2 separate regions of the Homo sapiens genome follow, and region 1 is linked to region 2. The links are contacts of gene promoters, found by promoter capture Hi-C in human tissues and cell types (Jung and others, 2019). All regions are on one chromosome and are shown on one strand. Each heading gives the region's core, a stretch centred on a gene start or on the middle of the fragment in contact. The rest is flanking DNA. Distances are from core to core; before and after follow the strand shown. Region 1 overlaps ARHGEF1 (Rho guanine nucleotide exchange factor 1). Region 2 holds the start of GRIK5 (glutamate ionotropic receptor kainate type subunit 5).

Region 1 (7,145 bases), core at 2,919-5,418, 170 kb before region 2:
ATTTTAGGGGAGTAGTTGAGTACTTTTTGGGTCACAGATCCTTCTAAGGACATGATAAAAAAAAAAAAAAACATGAGCCATGTGCTACCCATTAGGACTTTCTGGAAGATGGAAATGTGCTTTATTTGTACTGCTCACCATGGGGACCATCGGCCACCTATGGCTGGTGAGCACTTGAAATGCACTAGGCCAGGCACAGTGGCTCATGCCTGTGATCCCAGCACTTTGGGAAGCCGAGGTGGGCAGATCACTTGAGGTCAGGAGTTCGAGACTAGCCTGGCCAACATGGTGAAACCCCATCTCTACTAAACATACAAAAATTAGCCAAGCATAGTGGCGCATGCCTGTAATCCCAGATACTCGAGAGAGTAAGCCAGGAGAATTGCTTGAACCCAGGAAGCAGGAGATGGAGGTTGCAATGAACCCAGATCACTCCACCACACTTCAATCTAGGTGACAGAGCAAGACTGTGTCTCAAAAAAAAAGCACTAAATACAACTGAGCACTGACTTAAAATTTCATTGCAATTAACGAAAATGTAAAGAGTTGTACACGGCTGGTGACTATCACGTTGGACAGGATAGCAATTTCTTTCCCCAGAAAGAATATGCATAATGTACAAAATCGTGCTTTTAGTCTCAGGGGACTTCTAGGGCCCCTGAAACTCACACATATGCCCTCCGGGGATGTGGGGGTCCCTGGATCTGAGGCTGTCAACCACTGTATAATGTGGCTTGATGGTTAGACACTAAACACAGCTGCAAGCTTGCTGGCAGGTGGGATGACTAGCTTGTCCCCATTTGCTCAGGATATTCACAGTTTTATCACTGAAAGCCCAGGCAGGCAAATGAGGACCATTGGTCACTCTGGCCAGCTGCCACAGCGAAAAGGGAAAGGCAGTGGGTTGAGGAATCCTCACTGGTTTTTTTTTTTTTTTTTTTTTTTTGAGACGATCTCGCTCTGTCGCCTAGGCTAGAGTGCAGTGGCGTGATCTCCGCTCACTGCAACCTCCACCTCCCAGGTTCAAGCGATTGTCCTGCCTCAGCCTCCCAAGTAGCTGGAACTACAGGTGCCCACCACCACTCCTGGCTAATTTTTGTATTTTTAGTAGAGATGGGGTTTCACCATGTTGGCCAGGATGGTCTTGATCTCTTGACCTCGTGATCTGCCCGCCTAAGCCTCCCAAATTGCTGGGATTACAGGCATGAGCCACTGCACCCGGCCCCTCAGTGGCTATTTAAGAGGGCAAATGACTCCACCCGGAGAGTTTTTTTTTTTATTTGTTTGTTTTGTTTTGTTTTTTTGAGACGGAGTCTCGTTCTGTCACCAGGCTGGAGTGCAGTGGTGTGATCTCAGCTCACTGCAACCTCTGTCTCCCGGGTTCAAGAGATTCTCCTGCCTCAGCCTCCCGAGTAGCTGGGACTACAAGAGTCCGCCCCCACACCTGGCTAATTTTTGTATTTTTTTAGTAGAGATGGGGTTTCACCATGTTGGCCAGGCTGGTCTTGAACTCCTGACCTTGTGATCCACCTGCCTCAGCCTCCCAAAATGCTGGGATTATAGGCATGAGCCACTGTGCCCAGCCATTTTGTTTTGAGACAAGGTCTCGCTCTGTTGCTTGAGCTGGGGTGCAGTAATGCCATCATAGCTCACTGCAGCCTCAACCTCCTGGGCTCAAGGGATCCTCCCACTTGAGCCTCCCAAGTAGCTGGGACTACAGGCACACACCAACATGCCTGGGCTAATTTTTTTTCTTTTTTAAATTTTTGGTAGAAACAGGGTTTCACCATGTTGCCCAGGCTGATCTTGGACTCCTGGGTTCAAGCAATCCTCTTGCCTTGGCCTCCCAAAGTGCTGGGATTACAAGTGTGAACCACCATGGCTAGCCAGAGAGAGTTTTTTCCCACCAACTTCTAGGAAGCTTTCCTCCCTGCTCTGCCTCATTCCTCTAGCCTGCCCATGAGGTCATGCCCCCTAGTCTGCACCCTCCCCAACATGCTTCCTGCTTTGGTGGCCCTGCAGAGCTGCTGGTGACAGAGGCGGCCCACGTGCGCATGCTGCGGGTGCTGCACGACCTCTTCTTCCAGCCCATGGCAGAATGCCTGTTCTTCCCCTTGGAGGAGCTGCAGAACATCTTCCCCAGCCTGGACGAGCTCATCGAGGTGCATTGTGAGTGCAGAGCCAGGGTCCCTCTGTGTACCCCACTGCCCCACGGGCAGCTCTGCTCTAGCCCTGGGTTCAACCTGCTCGGGAACCCCAGGGTTCACATGGGGTGGGGGCAGATACGCCATCCGGTCCCGAGGATCAGACACAGACACACCTGCAGCCCTACCCCCACCACACCGCAGCAGGCCCCGCACAGCATCTTCCAGACCCTGGTGGAGCATCCCTTTCCTCCTGCCCCCACAGCCCTGTTCCTCGATCGCCTGATGAAGCGGAGGCAGGAGAGTGGCTACCTCATCGAGGAGATCGGAGACGTGCTGCTGGCCCGGGTGAGATGCCCAGCCCTCCCGCTCCTCCCAGCTAGACACATGGAATTCAGGCCCGGGACGGGTCCTGAGCCCACCCTACTCCAGTCCCAGGGTCTGGGCTTCCAGCCTGTCGTACTTTAGTCCCTGTTCTTGCCCATCCCCACTGAGACACCTGCCTGGCCTGAATCTCGCTGTAGTTTGATGGTGCTGAGGGCTCCTGGTTCCAGAAAATCTCCTCCCGCTTCTGCAGCCGCCAGTCATTTGCCTTAGAGCAGCTCAAAGCCAAGCAACGCAAGGACCCTCGGTTCTGTGCCTTCGTGCAGGTGAGGTGGGGTCTGGACTCCAGCTTCCCAGGGAGGAGGGGCCTGGAGACCCAGACTCCTAGGTGCCTGCGCCCTGGGGTGAGCCCAAAGCCTGGGCCATCGCAACACCAGCATGTTTCCCGCAGGAAGCTGAGAGCCGCCCGCGGTGCCGCCGCCTGCAGCTGAAGGACATGATCCCCACGGAGATGCAGCGGCTGACCAAGTACCCCCTGCTCCTGCAGAGCATCGGGCAGAACACAGGTACCGCGGGCCTGGATCTCTGGGCCTCGGCTCTCCTCTTTTTTTTTTACATTTTTTTTCTCACTCATTTTCATCAGTGATACCATCACAGCTCACTGCAGCCTCAACCTCCCAGGATCTACCATCCTCCCACCTCAGCTCCCCAAGTAGCTGGGACCCCAAGGGCACACCACCATGCCCAGCTAATTTTTTTAGTTTTTTTTTTTAGAGACGGGGTCTCGCCATGTTGCCCAGGCTGGCTTTGAACTCCTGGTCTCAAGCTATCCTCCCGCCTCAGCCTCCCAAAGTGCTTGGATTACAGGCGTGAGCCACCATGCCCGGCCAGCTGTCCTTTGTCTAACCTTGGCTGCCCAATCTGGAGCCTCCAGGGCAGGGGTTCACCAGAGCTGCTCTCTCCCTTGCCTGCAGAAGAGCCCACAGAACGGGAGAAAGTGGAGCTGGCAGCCGAGTGCTGCCGGGAAATTCTACACCACGTCAACCAAGCCGTGCGTGACATGGAGGACCTGCTGGTGAGCCTGGGCTGGCCCCACACCCGGGACAGTGGATGGTGTGAGAGCAGGGGGTGGACCCTACCTCAGCCTGTCCAGAAGTCACACCCCACCCCTTGGCTTGTCTCCCTCAAGGGTCACTGTGTCCAGGGGTTGGCTTGGCCCTCAGCATCTCCCTCTCAGGGTCATTGGAGGTCAGGCCCAACCCTCAGCTTGCCCGCATCAGAAGTTGGTCTTGGCTCTCATCTTACCAATGTGGGTCACTGCAGGTCAGCCCCAGCACTTAGCTTGTCCCCATAATGCTCCCGTCTCTGCCCCAGAGGCTCAAGGACTATCAGCGGCGCCTGGACTTGTCCCACCTTCGGCAGAGCAGCGACCCTATGCTGAGCGAGTTCAAGGTGTGACCATACCCTCCTGCCTCCCCCGCCCCCCTACTCCTTGGCCCAGGGGATTCTGTGATACAGCCCCCAGCCTGTCCTGCCCATCCCATAATACACCCAGGAAGCGAGAGCTCTGTCCCCCACCTCATGCCAATCCCATGATCCCCAGCCTGTGGTCATCCCCGGCCACTGCCCTGCCCTTCCCCTCCCCACCAACCCCAATCACCCCCTGCCAACCTGCACAAACCATCACCCCCTCCTGCCCCAGAACCTGGACATCACCAAGAAGAAATTGGTCCACGAGGGCCCACTGACGTGGCGGGTGACTAAGGACAAGGCAGTGGGTGAGTGCCAGAGCAGCTGCCTAGTGCAGGGTGTTGGGGCAGTGAGCCAAGGGCGGGGAGGGGGTCGCGCGGGGGCACGCCGTGTGAGCACTGCTCGCCCCGTAGAGGTGCATGTGCTGCTGCTGGACGACCTGCTGCTGCTGCTCCAGCGCCAGGACGAGCGGCTGCTGCTCAAGTCCCATAGCCGGACACTGACGCCCACGCCCGATGGCAAGACCATGCTGCGGCCCGTGCTGCGGCTCACCTCCGCCATGACCCGCGAGGTGGCCACCGGTGAGTGCAGCCACTGCATGGCCCAGGGCAGAGGGTGTCTTTTTTGGGCAGAGCTGCCTGTGGAGTGGGGAGCAGAACCCTCTAGAGAGCCAGGGAGCCAGCATTCTAGCAAAGAGGTTGAGAAGTAGGTGGAGGTGGGCAGGGCGGGGCCAGGCCTAGAGGGTTTATAAGTGAGGTAGGAACTGCTGCAGGTGTTTGCACAGAGGCGTGTCTTGTGTAAACAAGGAGAAGAAAGGCCAGGAGTCCAGTGAGGAGGGATTTGTAAACATACTACTAGGAAGTTGCACCAGGGCCACAAACACTGGAAGCGGCTGGAGGGTGGGAGTGGCTGGAGGGGTTTCGTTAGGTAAGCCAGGGTACATGCCCGATTCCATAAGGAGGTGTGAGAGGTGGGGCTCAGGAGGACACATCGGGCCCTGGATATTAGCAGACAGTGAGTGGTGAGTTGAGCCATGGGAGCCCTGAGAGCGCCACCACTGTGGGTGACTTCTCCAGCTTGTGCTTAGGGAGGGGCAGGCACTGGGGGGACCTGGGCTCTGAGCCCCATCTCCCCCTCTCCCTGCAGATCACAAAGCCTTCTACGTCCTTTTTACCTGGGACCAGGAGGCCCAGATATACGAGCTGGTGGCACAGACTGTGTCGGAGCGGAAAAAGTGAGGGGGGGTCTGAGTTCTGAGTGTGGGTGGAGGACGCCCAGGTTTCTGGGTTCCCAGGGACAGGAGGGCTGTGGGGAGGCCCTGGCATAGGGTCTGGGGGCTCTGACTGCCCAGGGATTTGGCCTTTCTCCCCAGCTGGTGTGCTCTCATCACTGAGACTGCCGGATCCCTGAAAGTCCCTGCCCCTGCCTCTCGCCCTAAGCCCCGGCCCAGCCCGAGCAGGTGAGGGGGGCCATGGAGAGAGCTGGAGGTTCAGGGAGTGGGGCCGGAAGGCGGGGCAGGCTTCCCTCCACAACTCCAGAACCGTCTCTGTGTGAGCATGCACATGTGTGAATGCATGTGTGTGCATACATGTGTGTCTGTACGCAAGTATGTGACTGTGCGTGCATATATAGTGTGTGTATGCATGCATGTGTGCGTGTGCATGTGTGTGCGTGTATGGTGTGTGTGTATGCATATGTGTGCATGCGTGTGACAGCATGTGCATGCATGTGTGTGTGTGTGCGCATGTGCCGACCCCACCACTGCCCCGTCTGTCTCCTGTCTCCAGGCCTCTGTGTCTTCCATTGTCTGGGCCTCTCTGTCTCCCTGTCTCCCGGCCTCGACCTCTGTCTCTGTCTCCGGACCTCCCTGCCTCCCCACCTCCAGCTCTCTGTCTCCCTGCCCCTGCGGCCCCCCAGGGCCAGGGGTGTGGGGTCACCCAGCACTTCCTCCCCTCAGCACCCGAGAACCCCTCCTCAGCAGCTCTGAGAACGGCAATGGTGGCCGAGAGACGTCTCCAGCTGATGGTGAGACCAGAGGGATGCTGGGTGAGGGGCCAGGTTGGGGCTGCCGGGTGAAGAGAGGCATCCACAGGAGGCCCGGCAGGATCTGAGCTCCCTCTCTGTTCCCCAATCCAGCCCGGACCGAGAGAATCCTCAGTGACCTCCTGCCCTTCTGCAGACCAGGCCCCGAGGGCCAGCTCGCTGCCACGGCCCTTCGGAAAGGTAGCCCAGCTCTGCCCCTCCAGGGTGGCCACCAGCCCAAACAGTGCCTCTGTTCCAACTAGAACAAGGCTCTCCACGTCAAAAATTTCCTTACGCCCAGCTGCCAGAAAACAAATGCTCCAAACCCACCCAGCCTGCACCACTGTCCTGGGTGCCCACGTCCCTCTTCTGCAGCCACCATCCCTTGCTTGATTCTATATTTAGCCTCTTCCTGAACACATCTCTGTCTTCAGTACCTTCCTGCCCTGTCCCAACCCTAAACCCAGCCTCACTTCTTCACCTCCCTTTGGATCCCCGAACCCCATCTGCTCAGCCTTGCCTGGCACCCACCTTCACCTCCAGCCCCTACACATCCCCTTTGGAATCCCCCATCCCAGATCCCAGCCCAGCCCCCTGGTCTCCTGACTCCACCCCTCCTTGCCCCTGGCCAGTGCTGTCCCTGAAGCAGCTTCTGTTTCCGGCGGAGGAAGACAATGGGGCGGGGCCTCCTCGAGATGGGGATGGGGTCCCAGGGGGCGGCCCCCTGAGCCCAGCACGGACCCAGGAAATCCAGGAGAACCTGCTCAGCTTGGAGGAGACCATGAAGCAGCTGGAGGTGGGGCGGGACGGGCCAGGGGTGCCCTGAGTGGGCTGGGGAAGGAAGGGGCCCCCCTCATCCATGACCCCCACCCCACCAGGAGTTGGAGGAGGAATTTTGCCGCCTGAGACCCCTCCTGTCTCAGCTTGGGGGGAACTCTGTCCCCCAGCCTGGCTGCACTTGAGGTTCCCGCCCAGGAAGGTGAGTGGGGCACCTGGGGGCCAGGGCGCTGTCCTGAAAGGAGGGTCCCCCTCCAGAGCTCGCATCCCTACAGCCCCTTCTGTCCATCTCCCTCTTTGTCTTTTCTGAATCTCCCCACTCCACCTCGTGTTTCTCATCTCTGTGTCTCTGTTTCTGATAATCTGTTTCTCTGTCTCTGTGCCCGCCTGCCTCTCCCCACCTCCCCT
Region 2 (7,230 bases), core at 393-2,892:
CAAGCTCAGAGGCAGAGAGAGGGAGGAGGACAGGTGAGCGGAGGCACAGAATAGAAAGAGAAATGGAAAGAGACCTGCCGAGGGAGACTTGGAAAGAGGGAAGCCAGGGTGGAGGAGTTCTGACAGAGAGAGGGATCTAAACAGAGACATGCCGAGAGCAACCTGGGCTAACAGCAAAGAGAGAAGTTGGGCAGAGTCAGAGAGGGGCCCAAGAGACACAGGAAATGGGGGCTCAAAAGCGGAAAGACATATCCAGGAGATAGAGACTGGACGGGGTGGGGACAGGGCCAAGGCCCACCGCAGGCAGAGGATGAGGCTCAGAGGAACAGAAAGAGCCAGTCTGGGACCAGGACGGAGGCTTGGAGACAGCAGGGGCACGGACATGCCAGGGGCCCGGGGTAAGTGAGAGCCCAAGTAAGAGCAATCAGCCCCGTAGGACCCCAGAAAGCTAGAGGGCCAGGGGCGGCAGTGAGCTATGTACCCAGAAGAAGAGGTGAGAAGAGGTCGAGGTGAATGGACGCTGAGGAGATGGAGGGCGCAGAGCAGGCCCCTAGTGGGGGAGGGTACTTGCCAGTCCGGAGAACGGGGAGAATGTGGTGCCCCCCTGCCAGGCGGCACCAGAGCCCAGCCTTCCAGGACCCAGAACCCAGCCCAATCCCTGCCCTGCAGACACTCACGGATCCTGGTGGGACGGAGGGCTGGGCTCCCTCGAGGCCCGAAGACCGACAGCGGGAGGTGCTCTGGCGCTGGGTGGTGGTGGGGCTGGGCGGGGGGAGAGGGCAGTCCACAGGGCCCCCTCCCCCGCCGCCGGTGGTGGCTCCCAACTAATCCAAAACGGTGGCTCCACAGGAGCAGGGAGGAAGGACAGGTGGAAGAGGAGAGGGCGGGCCGGGGAGGGGAGGAAGGGGAAAGGAGAAAATGGAGGAGAGAAGGGGAGAGAGGAGAGGGGGAAGGAGCAAATGGAGGGGAAGGAGGGAGGAAAGGAGGAGAGGAAGGTGAAAACGGAAGGGGGGGGCACAGGCAAAGCCGGGGGAGGGGGAAGCTGGCCCAGGAAAGGGCCCCCGCCCCCTCCCCTAGCCGGGCCGGCCTGGGGGGGCCACAGGGGGCGAGGACTGGGTGGAGAAAAGGAAGCCGGCCATCAGGAGAAGTGGGGGAGGGGAGGGCCTGCTGGGGGAGGGGGCCGCCCCCTTTCCCCCTCCCCCCTGGAGCCTGGGCCCTGCCCTGGTTGAGGCAAGGGCCCGGAGTCCTCAAGCCCTCAGCCCCCACGGGAAAAGCATGCTGGGGGCGGGGAGAGCCCGGGAGTGGAGAGCTGGGGAGGATGGAGAGCTGGGAGACCCGGAGAGGCCAAGAAGGGGGCAAATGAGGTGGAGAGATAGGGAGGAGGGAGAGGAGGATGGAGAGGAGCAGGTGGAAGAGAAAGGCGGAGGAGGGTGGGGTGTCCCAGGGGCTCCCGGTGCTGGGCCTCAGTGGGAGGGCCTGGCGACACACTCCTGGTCCCCTGTGAGGAGCCGGCTCCAGTCCCCGGCTCCAGTCCCCGGCTGGGCCTGCCTCCCTGCCGCTGGCTGCCGCCACCGCTCAGTCTCCCCTCCGAGGCCGCCGCCTGCCTGCCCGCCTGCCGCCTGCGCTGGGTCCTGGAGCGCAGTGGGGTGGTTCAGGAGAGAGAGAAGAGGGAGGGAGGGAGGCAGGGAGGAGGGCGGGCAGGAGGAAGGGAGGGAGGCAGGCAAAGAGAGAGTAGGGAGGTGAGTCGGGGGAGGGGGAGCCTGTATTGGTTGGGGCTGGGGGCCCCCCGCGAGGAGAATGCTGATGAGAAGAAGGAGCTGCATTGGATGGAAGGCCCACCCCCGAGCCACCCCCTCTACCACACCATGCCACCGCCCTGCCCAGGCAGCCCTGGGCACAGGAGCCCACAGAGATGAGAGGCAAGAAGACCCAGGGAGAAGGCCACTGAGATGAGGGGAGAGGGCTACAGAGATGAAGAGAAATGAAGAGAAGAGAGACAGCCGTCAAGACTGTCCAGAGAAGTGGGCTGAGGCCCACAAACCCCACAAGGACAAGGACAGGAAAAGCCCAGGGATAAGAAAGAAAGGCCCATGGAGACAAGGGAGCAGCCTACAGAGACAAGCAAAAGGACCTCGGAGACAAGGGGCAGTAATGTGGACATAGAGACCTCCCGCGAAGGAAAACGGGAGAAGCCAGAGACACAAGAGAGAGGCCCCTGGAAACAGAAAGCACTCCTCAGATATGGGGAGCGGTCCACAGGGCAGGGAGAGAGCCAAGGAGAGCCGAAGAAGGTCACAGAAACAAGGGAGGCCTACAGACACCAGGGTACCAAAAAGACAAGGATGTGGCTCATAGACACAAGAGAGCCACTGAGGCAGGAGCTGCCAGCCTGGAGATGCGGGGCAAGCCTCCCCCAATATAAATAGCTCCTATAGAGGTGAGGGGATGGGTGGTGAGTATGAGAATTCCCTATAGTGCACAGAGAAATCCTTGGGACCCACAGAGATGAGTGGGTGGAGAGAAGGGGCCCTCATTCTCTAGTCACAGGAGCAGAGAGGCAGTGGGAAAGGTGGATGGGACAAGGAGAGGAAGCTGGAGGGCAGAGCCAGAAGTGGGAGACTCCTTCCCAGGGAACACCCTGCAGCCTCTCAGAAGGAGCTGAGCAGGACAGGGGGATGGAAGAGAGAAGCGACACAGATCTTGGAGTGGGGGTGGGTGGTGCATGGCTGGGTGGGGGGTGAAATTTGGGGGGAAGAAACATGACAGTTGGCGCCGAAGGCTGAGCCCGTGACTCACCACCACCCCCGATGCTCGTGATGGGGAGGAGACACTGACACACTCACGTGCGGCCCACAGCATATGTGACCGCATGCCTCGAACACACAGCTGGCACATGGCAACTCCTGGACCACATGCCAGCCCAGCACAGGAAGCCCTCTGCAAGCTGGCATGTGGGGCATCCTGGACACACATCTGACACATATATCTGACGCTGAAGGACCACCAACTTTGCACACACCTCCTTACCCCACTTGGTCAACATCTACACCGCCCCCTCAAACATCCACACTTAACTCCAGTCAGGCCTAAAAGCCCAGATTCACACCTGCCTCTGGGACTTTGCTTATGAAGGACCTCAACACAGAACACCATCCTTTCGACCAGGGCGGTGGCTCATTCCTGTAACCCCAGCACTTTGGAAGGCCGGGGCAGGTGGACCACCTGAGGTTGGGAGTTCAAGACCAGCCTGGCCAACATGGCAAAACCCCGTCACTACTAAAAATACAAAAATTAGCCAGGCCCGGTGGCACACTCCTTTAGTCCCAGCTACTTGGGAGGCTGAGGCACAAGAATTGCTTGAACCTAGGAGGCAGAGGTTGCTGTGAGCCATGATCATGCCACTGCACTCCAGCATGGGAGACAAAGCGAGACTCCATCTCCAAAAAAAAAACAAAAAACAAAAACCAACCACCATCCCCTCTAAATTCAACCTGTCCCGGAAATCCCAGCCAGTCCTGCACTACCACCTCCAGAAAGACCTCAGCTTATCCTCAGCTTATTCCTATATGATCTGGAGAAAAGAGACCTGCACCACCCAAATCAAGTTGAGAAGTCCAAGCAAAAGGCCTGAGAAGTTACCTGGATCCTCAAATTTTCTTTTTTTTTCCTTTTCTTTTTTTTTTTTTTTTGAGATGGAGTCTCGCTCTGTTGTCCAGACTGGAGTGCAGTGGCATGATCTCGGCTCACTGCAAGCTCTGCCTCCTGGGTTCACACCATTCTCCTGCCTCAGCCTCCTGAGTAGCTGGTACTACAGGCGCCCACCACCACACCCGGCTAACTTTTTTTGTATTTTTAGTAGAGACGGGGTTTCACCATGTTAGCCAGGATGGTCTCGATCTCCTGACTTCGTGATCTGCCTGCCTCGGCCTCCCAAAGTGCTGGGATTACAGGCGCAAGCCACTGCACCCGGCCAGGTTTTCTTTTCTTTTATTTTTTCTTTCTTTCTTTTTTTTTTTTCTTTAGATGGAGTTTCGCTCTTGTTGCCTAGGTTGGAGTGCAATGGCGCCATCTTGGCTCACTGCAACCTCCGCCTCCGGGGTTCAAGTGATTCTCCTGCCTCAGCCTCCCGCGTAGCTGGGATTACAGGCATGCACCACCATGCCTGACTAATTTTGTATTTTTAGTAGAGACGGAGTTTCTCCATGTTGGTCAGGCTGGTCTTGAACTCCTGACATCGGGTGATCGGCCTGTCTCGGTCTCCCAAAGTGTTGTGATTACAGGTGTGACCCACCGCACCCAGCCTGATCCTCAGATTTTCAAGTGGGGAAAAGGAGGTTTCAGCAGAAGCAAGAATCTGCCCAAGGTCACACAGCCTGTCAAAAACTGAGCATGGCTTCCACTTCTCTGTCACCTACCCCAGGTGATTTTGCCCTAAGGGCAAACCCAGACTGCTTCAGAGCAGGCCGAGCCTAGCTTTAGCTCACTAATTTCCACCAACTCTTTCCTCCACTTCTTGCATTCAACCCTTCAACATGCAACCACTTGAACTTCCTGCCTGGCAGGCAGGTGAGCCTGGGGGCCAAGAATGTAGACTGTAAGGTCAACTCCTGGGTTGGAATCCTGACTCTTCCTAACTATGGGAACTACGACTAGTTACTTCTCTGGGGCCTCGATGTTTTGTAGAGTCAGCATGACAGTTTCTCTCTCATAGGGTTGTTGAGAGGATTAAACTGAGTAATGCATGTAAGCATTGAGCATAATACCTAGCACGTCATAATACACTCAAGAGATGTTAGTTATTATTATTAGGCTCCCGGAGATACTAATAAAAATAACAACTGGCCAGACACAGTGGCTCACACATGTAATCCCACCATTTTGGGAGGCCAAGACAGGAGGATAGCTTGAGCCCAGGAGTTCTGAGACCAGCCTGGGCAACATAGTGAGACCCTATCTCTATAAAAAAAAAAAAAAAACCCGGGCATGGTGGCTCATGCCTGTAATCCCAGCACTTTGGGAGGTCAAGGTAGATGGATCAACTTGAGGCCAGGAGTTCGAGACCAGCCCAGCCAATGTGGCAAAAACCCATCTCTACCAAAAACTAGGAAAAATTAGCAGGGCATGGCGGTGTATGCCTGTAATCCCAGCTACTCAGGAGGCTGAAAATTGCTTGAGCCTGGGAGGCAGAGGTTGCAGTTAGCTGAGATCACACCACTGCACTCCAGCCTGGGTGACAGAGCTAGACTGTCTCAAAAAAAAAAAAAAAAAAAAAAAAAAAATTAGGGACTGGGCGCAGTGGCTCACGCCTGTAATCCCAACACTTTGAGAGGCTGGGTGGGGGGGTGGATCACCTGAGGTCAAGAGTTCGAGACCAGCCTGGCCAACATTGCAAAAACCTGTCTCTACTAAAAATACAAAAATTAGCCGAGAGTGGTGGTGTCTGCCTGTAGTCCCAGCTACTCAGGAGGCTTAGGCAGGAGAATCACTTGAACCCAGGAGGCGGAGGTTGCAGTGAGCTGAGATCGTGCCACTGTACTCCAGCCTGGGCGGTGGGCGACAGAGTGAGACTCCATCTCAAAAAAAAAAAAAATTAAATTAAATTTTAAAAATAGGCCAGGTGCAGTGGCTCACGCCTGTAATCCCAGCACTTTGGGAAGCCAAGGCAGGTGGATCACGAGGTCAGGAGATTGAGACCATCCTGGCCAACACGGTGAAACCCCGTCTCTACTAAATATACAAAAATTAGCCAGGCGTGGTGGCGAGCGCCTGTAGTCACAGGTACTCAGGAGGCTGAGGCAGGAGAATCGCTTGAACCTGGGAGGCGGAGGTTGCAGTGAGCCGAGATCGCGCCACTGCACTCCAGCCTGGGCGGCAGAGAAAGACTCTGTCTCATAAATAAAATAAAATAAAATAAAATAAAATAAAATAAAATAAAATAAAAATAAAATGAGTAACTCCTAGATGTCTTTTACTCTCTGCCTCACATGAGATGAAATGGGGCTCACATGAAATGGGGCTGTTATTAGCCCCATTTCACAGATTAGAAACTTAGGCTCAGGACAGTTGACTTGCCCTAGAACCAGGATTCCAATCCGGGAATCTGTTTTAACTATACATGCCTGGTGTTAGGGAATTTAATCCATGAGAAGGTTAGGACATCTAGTGACCAAATGGCCATAGAATTGGCCCCGGGTCTCACTGTGAGACGCATCCCATAGTGGCTTCAGGTAAGTAAATAAATAACACAATTCTGAGAGTCAGTTTCCTCATCCGATAAGTTGAAATTCCTCTGTGTTTGGGTTCAAGGAGTAGGTCTGGAAATGTTTCTTTTCTTCTTTCAGATGGAGTCTCGCTCTGTCGCCCAGGCGGGAGTGCAGTGGCGTGATCTCGGCTCACTGCAACCTCGGCCTCCTGGGTGCAATCAAATCTCGAGCCTCAGCCTCCCGAGTTGCTGGGGTTACAGGCACGAGCCACCACGCCCAGCTAATGTTTTGTATTTTTAGTAAAGATGGTAGTTTCACCAGGTTGGCCAGGTGGGTCTCGAATGCCTGACTTCAAGTGAACCCGCCTCAGCGTCCCAAAATGTTGGGATTGCAGGCGTGAGCCACCACGCCCAGCCTGGAAACGTTTCTAACAGTACTGGGGCAACTCCCTCCCAAGGCCCTGAGGGGCGCAGGAACGAGGTGAGTAGGAATGGCCAGAGCCCCTTGGACACATGGGGCCCCAATCTCGAGGTGTAAGGGTCAGAGTCACCCCGGAAGGAGGTGGAGTGGAGTCCGCCCGTTACCGGCTCACTTCCTTCAGGCTCTCACCCCGATTGTCCTTCAGGTCCTCTACCCACCACACTCCCTATTTCTTCCAATGAAATTGTCCCTGCTTCTTTTTCTCCATATCCTCGCTCTCCTTGCTTCCCCTATGACATTTCTCCTCTCTCCACCTCCCAAAAGTCCCCTCGGTCTTTTCTCTGTTTCTTCCTGTTGCCTTCATTCCCCTCCTTTTAATAAAGTGAGTCTGGAACCTTGGTTTCCCTTTTCTCTCTCCATGTGACTGGTGCTGCATGCAGTTTGCCCTCTCCCCATCGCGCTAAGTGGTTTCACTTTCTCCCTCTGACCCTCGGGGAAACCACAAAGGTTCCCGTGCCTCCATTCCCCCGCTCCAGCCCTCAAGGTGCCGCGTGCCTCAATTTCCCAGGCTCTTTTCCTCCCTCTCCCTGTCCCCAACGCTGACTCC

What was found. Contacts are between HindIII fragments. The study calls those that stand out against the background at their distance.
Region 1: a contact is called between a fragment that was not itself captured here and the fragment with the promoter of GRIK5 in region 2, in 1 of the 25 tissues and cell types used here (pancreas).

Annotation. Positions count from the first base shown.
Region 1 is chr19:41,899,865-41,907,009 of GRCh38, forward strand. ARHGEF1 (Rho guanine nucleotide exchange factor 1) reads left to right here. Exons shown (of 29, transcript NM_004706.4): 15 at 2,023-2,169; 16 at 2,410-2,492; 17 at 2,669-2,794; 18 at 2,920-3,034; 19 at 3,443-3,543; 20 at 3,843-3,920; 21 at 4,171-4,246; 22 at 4,352-4,519; 23 at 5,085-5,172; 24 at 5,311-5,397; 25 at 5,896-5,963; 26 at 6,075-6,161; 27 at 6,593-6,756; 28 at 6,839-6,939. The coding sequence ends at 6,922. Among named protein-coding and RNA genes, the nearest start is that of ARHGEF1, 20 kb to the left of the region's middle. RefSeq lists enhancers at 3,899-4,504, 4,505-5,109, 5,715-6,319. The HindIII fragment of the contact is 9,702 bases long and covers 1-7,145 here.
Region 2 is chr19:42,068,564-42,075,793 of GRCh38, forward strand. GRIK5 (glutamate ionotropic receptor kainate type subunit 5) reads right to left here and starts at 1,643. Exons shown (of 20, transcript NM_002088.5): 1 at 678-1,643. It also overlaps a transcript of ZNF574 not described here. RefSeq lists enhancers at 6,763-6,832, 6,913-6,962, 7,183-7,230. The HindIII fragment of the contact is 36,913 bases long and covers 1-7,230 here.